2 separate regions of the Homo sapiens genome follow, and region 1 is linked to region 2. The links are contacts of gene promoters, found by promoter capture Hi-C in blood cells and fetal thymus (Javierre and others, 2016). All regions are on one chromosome and are shown on one strand. The core of a region is centred on a gene start or on the middle of the fragment in contact, and the rest is flanking DNA. Distances in the headings are between cores, read along the strand shown. Region 1 holds the start of APOA5 (apolipoprotein A5). Region 2 holds the start of RPS25 (ribosomal protein S25).

Region 1 (3,589 bases), core at 730-3,229, 2.2 Mb after region 2:
GGATGTGTCTTTAAAAGGAAGGAACATGTCCTTCTCCTTTTCCTCCTTCCTGTTCCCTGGGAGGTGAACTTGGTAGCTGGAGGTGAAGCAGCTGGAACTTGGATATGAGCGTCTTGTTGATGATAATAGTGCAACAAGATAAAAGCAGCCCGAGCTGGCCTACATTTACATGAGAAGGAAATAAGACTCCATTTTGTTTAAGCTATTCTCTTGCATATATATATACACATATATATCAGCTAAGTGTAGCCATGTGACTAACTTGTGGCCAATGGGATGTCAGTATGAGTGGTAAGAGCAGTATCTTGTATATATATATGTGTATATATACACACACACATATATATACATATATGTATGCAAGAATATAAAATATACATGTGTGTGTGTATATATATACACACATATATATGTCCCTTGCAGCCAAGTCTAATTCTAACTAATACAAACTAACTCTAAAAAATGAATATATATTCACCAGGGGATAGGCTATTTCAAGCAGAGGGAAGCCTGTATAAAGGCTCAGGGAATGCCGTGGTTTTATGTGGCAGCAGATGAGACTGGAAATGAGTCAGGATGAGCCACAGTGGAGGATGAATTAAATGGGCAGGAGTGTGGTAGAAAGACCTGTTGGAGGCTATGAATGCAATCAAGGTGACAGACAACTGGTGCAATGATGGTAGTGGAAATGGAGGAGAGGGGATTGATTCAAGATGCATTTAGGACCAAGAATCGGGAGCTTGTGAACGTGTGTATGAGTACTGTAGACGGAGTGGGTGTGTCATCAGAGAAGATCTGAGCATTTGGGCTTGCTCTCCTCAGAGGCCCTGCGAGTGGAGTTCAGCTTTTCCTCATGGGGCAAATCTCACTTTCGCTCCAGTTCCTGGGGCTCAGAGTCCCTGGCCCAGATGCCTCTTGCCATCTCATCTTCACCCTGCCTGGCTTCCCTTGCTTGTTCCAGGATTGTTTCATAAAGAGGGATGTGGTTGGTCTTTAACCCTATGAATGCTGGCTGAGGATGCCTGCGGAACCTGTAGTGAAGCTTTCAGGGGCTGCTCGGGTTCTGGCTGGTAGGTGAACACTGTCCATCTTGCCGGCTGGGACACAGTGACTCTGGGTAGTTGTGTAAGAGAGGGGCCCTTGGCAGACAAACAGGTTCTTCTCTGTTGGTGGGCCAGCCAGCAGGTCAGTGGGAAGGTTAAAGGTCATGGGGTTTGGGAGAAACTGGGTGAGGAGTTCAGCCCCATCCCCCGTAAAGCTCCTGGGAAGCACTTCTCTACTGGGGCAGCCCCTGATACCAGGGCACTCATTAACCCTCTGGGTGCCAGGGAAAGGGCAGGAGGTGAGTGCTGGGAGGCAGCTGAGGTCAACTTCTTTTGAACTTCCACGTGGTATTTACTCAGAGCAATTGGTGCCAGAGGCTCAGGGCCCTGGAGTATAAAGCAGAATGTCTGCTCTCTGTGCCCAGACGTGAGCAGGTGAGCAGCTGGGGCAGAGGGATGGGGGTCACAGTCCTAAGGGAGGGCATTGCAGGTGGCCTCAGGGGAGAGCCTGGGGTGGCCCCTAAGACGTCCTCTTGGAACATTTTGGCAGAGTTGCCTCTTCGCCCTCATTATGGCTCAGTTTTTCCACCATGAAATGGGAGGGAGGGAGACAGGTGGGCAGGGGAGAGGTGGTAGAAGTGGCCTAGAGAACTGTTCCTGGGGTCTGGGACCTTTGCGAAGGGGTTAGAGCACCACGCTCCCTGCTATGTGACTGAGGTAGCAAGAGCACGCCCTCTTCCCATGTCTGAGGAAGACACCCTAGCCTCCTTGACTCACCTAGGTCAGTCCTCTTGAGCCCCAACAGCTCTGTGCTCCCCAGCCCAAGGAAGGGGTAACAGGATTTCGGGCAGTTGCCCCTGCAGAGGCCCCCTGGGCAAGTCCCCTGCGCCATGTCCCTTCGTCTCCTTCTTCCCCTAACCAGGCCTCCCTCCACCTGTCTTCTCAGAGCAGGTAATGGCAAGCATGGCTGCCGTGCTCACCTGGGCTCTGGCTCTTCTTTCAGGTGGGTCTCCGACCCTGACTTCAACGTGGGGGTGTGGGTGGAGGCTGGCCAGAGGGCCCTGTCCACCCTGGGGGAGGAGAGCCCAGGCCCTGATTACCTAGTCCCTCTCCACAGCGTTTTCGGCCACCCAGGCACGGAAAGGCTTCTGGGACTACTTCAGCCAGACCAGCGGGGACAAAGGCAGGGTGGAGCAGATCCATCAGCAGAAGATGGCTCGCGAGCCCGCGTGAGTGCCCAGGGGAAGGGGTGTAGGCGAAGGGAGGAGACAGCTGGGCCATGCCATGATGACCTGCCTCTGCTGCCTCAACCTCTGTGGCCGCTGCTGGGACAGAGGAAAGGAGCGGTGCTAGCTCTGTCTGCAGATCCCGGCCATCCTGGGCTCTTTAGCGCCCTCTGCCTGCAGCCCCCGCCTTGACAACTCCGTAGCTGTTGCCCCCTTGCTCACTGAGGCGCGGGACCTGGGATCAATCGGGAGGACGCCCGCTGCAGTCCCCAGAATCAAAGGATGATGTGGCGCATCTATGTTTCTTTGGAGAGTGTTGTAGGTCTGGATTTGTATGGGCAATGTGTTTGTGCTTCGTGCGTGAGTTGTTACTGGCCAGGGCTAGGACAAGAGCCCTCGACCCTGGGGCCAACGCCCTGCGTCCTTGGTTCCCCCAGAGGATCAGTGCGCGATGACTTGGGGACAAAGGAGATGATGGAGGCTAGCAGTCTGACGGCCTGGATATCTGTCCCCTTCTCCAGGACCCTGAAAGACAGCCTTGAGCAAGACCTCAACAATATGAACAAGTTCCTGGAAAAGCTGAGGCCTCTGAGTGGGAGCGAGGCTCCTCGGCTCCCACAGGACCCGGTGGGCATGCGGCGGCAGCTGCAGGAGGAGTTGGAGGAGGTGAAGGCTCGCCTCCAGCCCTACATGGCAGAGGCGCACGAGCTGGTGGGCTGGAATTTGGAGGGCTTGCGGCAGCAACTGAAGCCCTACACGATGGATCTGATGGAGCAGGTGGCCCTGCGCGTGCAGGAGCTGCAGGAGCAGTTGCGCGTGGTGGGGGAAGACACCAAGGCCCAGTTGCTGGGGGGCGTGGACGAGGCTTGGGCTTTGCTGCAGGGACTGCAGAGCCGCGTGGTGCACCACACCGGCCGCTTCAAAGAGCTCTTCCACCCATACGCCGAGAGCCTGGTGAGCGGCATCGGGCGCCACGTGCAGGAGCTGCACCGCAGTGTGGCTCCGCACGCCCCCGCCAGCCCCGCGCGCCTCAGTCGCTGCGTGCAGGTGCTCTCCCGGAAGCTCACGCTCAAGGCCAAGGCCCTGCACGCACGCATCCAGCAGAACCTGGACCAGCTGCGCGAAGAGCTCAGCAGAGCCTTTGCAGGCACTGGGACTGAGGAAGGGGCCGGCCCGGACCCCCAGATGCTCTCCGAGGAGGTGCGCCAGCGACTTCAGGCTTTCCGCCAGGACACCTACCTGCAGATAGCTGCCTTCACTCGCGCCATCGACCAGGAGACTGAGGAGGTCCAGCAGCAGCTGGCGCCACCTCCACCAGGC
Region 2 (3,548 bases), core at 319-2,818:
GAATATGTGCCACGCTTACTAAGCTTGTGTTTAAGCAAAGGCCGGCACATCTGATATCACAATTGAGAGCAGAAAAAGTTTAAAGGTCATTTAGTTAAACTGGCTTTCTTTAAATATGAAGAAACTAAGGCTCAGAGAAGAGAAGTTGACTTTAAGTAAGATGACACCTCGGCCGGGCGCGGTGGCTCACTCCTGTAATCCCAGCACTTTGGGAAGCCGAGGCAGGTGGATCACCTGAGGTCAGGAGTTTGAGACCAGCCTGGCCAACATGGCAAAACCCCTCTCTACTAAAAATACAAAAATTAGCTGGTCGTGGTGGCACGCGCCTGTAATCCCAGCTACTCGGGAGGCTGAGGCAGGAGAATCGCTTGAACCTGGGAGGCAGAGGCTGCAGTGAGCCGAGATCCCGCCACTGCGCTCCAGCCTGGGTAACTCCGCGGCCCCTCCCCACCCAGCAAAAAAAGATGACACCACTGCCGTTATTACCTAAAATCTAGATCTGGATCGGTTGCGTTTTTCATAACACCAGAACGACGATTTAAGAAAAGGTAGACAAATTACAAGCGCTGCCGTTCAGGAGACGGGGGACTTACGAGTGGAACATGGAGGCCAGCATAAGCTTCTCATTAGAAGTGAGGCGGGGCCGGCCAAATCGAATGGACACCGGGTAATTAGCAGGGTTACCCAGATACTCCAGCACCTCTTTCCCGTCGGCCGTGTACCTGCCATTCACGTCCATGCCATTGATGGCCAGCACTGCATGACCCACTGCAGAGGTGAAGCTAACGGTCAGCGAAGGTGCAGCCCGGGGATTCCGCCGAGGGGACAAGGGACCCGACACAACCCCTTTTCCCCCAACCCCGCACCTACAACCAGCCCACTTCTACAGCACTGGGGCCCTCCCACCCCCGCACCCGCCACGGGCCCGAGCCTAGCCCACCTCGGATGCCGTCCCGCTGGCCGAAAGCAACCAACACACGCTCATCGTGTAGCTTGAGCAGCAGATCCAGCGGATAACTGAAAGTTTTCTCAGCCTCAGCCCGTGGCGCGTAGCTGTCCAACTGGTAAATCAAGCCGCCAGCTTTGTTCACCACATACACACTAAAAATCGCCATCGCTGCCTTGCCGCTCGGAAACTGGTATTCAGCCTCTACCCGACGGCCCCTCCCCGGAACCGCATCACAGCACTTGCCGCCGGCCCCACCCCAGCCTCCTCCTCCTCCTCCTCCTCCTCCCGCGCCCCCCGTGCAGCCACCTGCTGCACTTGCGCACTGGGAGCGACACGCTCGGGCATAAGTAGTGCCGGAAAGTTAGCTGCCGAGACCTGGTGGATTGCTTTTCGTTTATCAGTGCAGGAAAACAGCGCTATAGTATGCGTCACAACTAGCGCAGACTCCGGCAGTATTTAGGCGGTGCGGCTTGGGAACTAGAATCCACTTCCTGTCTTCCGCCTCAGGCTAGAGGGCGAGCGCTTCGCCGTGGGACTTCTTCTGCCTGGCTCCGCCTTTTGCCCCGGAAGTACTCACAGCGGACGGTGGTTTTTGGGCCCGTTTCTGAGCAGCGCTTCCTTTTTGTCCGACATCTTGACGAGGCTGCGGTGTCTGCTGCTATTCTCCGAGCTTCGCAATGGTAAGCTTCAGGGGTGTGAAGTCGCCGGCGTTCTTGGGTTTGAGGACTCAGTGGGGAGAGCCTTCGGCGGGAGCGCTCCTTGGCCTGCCGGCCTCGGTTGCAGGGCGGGCGCGGTTATTGCTTGGCCCATGTGCTCTGGTGGTGGAGTTTGCGGGGGCTGAGGGCGCAGTATTAGGGGACTTTGGCGCTATTTGAGGACCTGGTTGCATTCCCGCTGCCCTCCTACAGCCGCCTAAGGACGACAAGAAGAAGAAGGACGCTGGAAAGTCGGCCAAGAAAGACAAAGACCCAGTGAACAAATCCGGGGGCAAGGCCAAAAAGAAGGTAGAAATAAGACCTCTCTGAAAGAGACTAGGGGTAACTCTCTCGTAATCCTCTAGTAATAGGTAACTTGTATAGTAAGTGGTTTTTCAGGTGTAGATTTCTAGAGTCAAAATGTGAGAGTTTATCTTCCCGTCACCACTCGTTCTTTTTCCCATTAGGATCATGAAAATGGGTCTGTTGTGCGAAGTGTCTGCCGCTGTGCCTGCTGTGTTATTTTTAACTGATCTAGTGGGGCTCGGCCCCTGTTTGAAGGCCAAAAACGTGTCGGTGTTTTTTTTTTGTTTTTGTTTTAGTAATGTGTAATTTATCCTTGATAACGGTGGAACAGATTTCTCTGACGCAGATTACTCGAGAGGGAAAGGGTGCTTCTGCCAGAAATACTAACTTGTTTCTGTTTTGTTTTGGTGAGCAGAAGTGGTCCAAAGGCAAAGTTCGGGACAAGCTCAATAACTTAGTCTTGTTTGACAAAGCTACCTATGATAAACTCTGTAAGGAAGTTCCCAACTATAAACTTATAACCCCAGCTGTGGTCTCTGAGAGACTGAAGATTCGAGGCTCCCTGGCCAGGGCAGCCCTTCAGGAGCTCCTTAGTAAAGGTGAGGGGTGTATCCTACATGTGTGTTTTTGTAGGTTAAATTGTCTTGACCATGTTAAGCATCTTCAGTGGTTTTGCTGGAAAAGCAGAATTAAAAAAAAAAAGCGTGGCTTGACCATTGGCTGTTAGTAATGTAATTCTGACGTCTTACTCCTGATCCTGAGATGAATTCTCAGGGTTCTTAGCCACTTTTGTGCCGTGGACCCTGTGGCAGTTTAGTGAAGCCCAAGGATCTTTTATGTTTCGAGTAAATGGATGCATAGAATTACAGGGACAACCGTTTTTGAAATAATTAGATTACTATTTTGAAACAACTTTGAAAATGTTTAAAACCTTTATGGTAAATATTTTGTTGATGTATTAAATTTTAAAACCAGAAATTTAGTACGGTCTACTCAGTAGTATGGTCTGATTACCATAATTCCACAATAATAAGGCTCAGCTAACTATAGTGACTGAACGTCTATAATTCTAGCACTTTGGGAGGCCAAGGCGGGTGAATCAACGGAGGTCAGGAGTTAAAGACCAGCCTGGCCAATATGGTGAAAACCTGCTCTACTGAAAGTTAGCTGGACGTGGGGGCACACGTCTGTAATCCCAGCTACTCAGGATGCTGAGGCATGAGGATCCCTTGAACCCAGGAGATGGAGGTGGCAGTGAGCCGAGATGACACCACTGCACTCCAGCCTTAGTGACAGCAAAAGACTGTCTCAGAAAGGGGGGGGGGGTGGAAGATAATGGAGCCCTAATTTAAAGGAAAAGTAAGGATAGATGATCGTTAAAAACTAGGATTCTCGGTTACCGAACGTCAGATTAAGCAATTCTGGAGCCAGGTGCAGTGGTACCCTTGTATTTCTAGCTACTTGGGAGGCCAAAGCAGGAGGATCATTTGAGCCAAGGAGTTTTAAGACCATTCTGGGCACCTCTGAGAGAACTCTGTCTTTTTGTTTTCCTTTTCTTTAAATAGAGATGCGGTTTTGCCATGTTGCCCAGGCTGGTC

Evidence for each region. Contacts are between HindIII fragments. The CHiCAGO score rates a contact against its expected background, and 5 or more counts as called.
Region 1: a contact is called between the fragment with the promoter of APOA5 here and the fragment with the promoter of RPS25 in region 2, in 1 of 17 cell types (monocytes). The highest score is 7.1, in monocytes.

The regions. Positions count from the first base shown.
Region 1 is chr11:116,790,269-116,793,857 of GRCh38, reverse strand. APOA5 (apolipoprotein A5) reads left to right here and starts at 1,979. Exons shown (of 3, transcript NM_001371904.1): 1 at 1,979-2,046; 2 at 2,161-2,272; 3 at 2,791-3,589. The coding sequence starts at 1,998. The HindIII fragment of the contact is 6,000 bases long and covers 1,045-3,589 here.
Region 2 is chr11:119,016,363-119,019,910 of GRCh38, reverse strand. RPS25 (ribosomal protein S25) reads left to right here and starts at 1,568. Exons shown (of 5, transcript NM_001028.3): 1 at 1,568-1,629; 2 at 1,858-1,953; 3 at 2,366-2,549. The coding sequence starts at 1,627. TRAPPC4 (trafficking protein particle complex subunit 4) reads right to left here and starts at 1,145. Exons shown (of 5, transcript NM_016146.6): 1 at 941-1,145; 2 at 594-768. The coding sequence starts at 1,115. RefSeq lists enhancers at 574-1,272, 1,527-1,756, 1,777-1,846 and a silencer at 1,167-1,286. The HindIII fragment of the contact is 1,015 bases long and covers 622-1,636 here.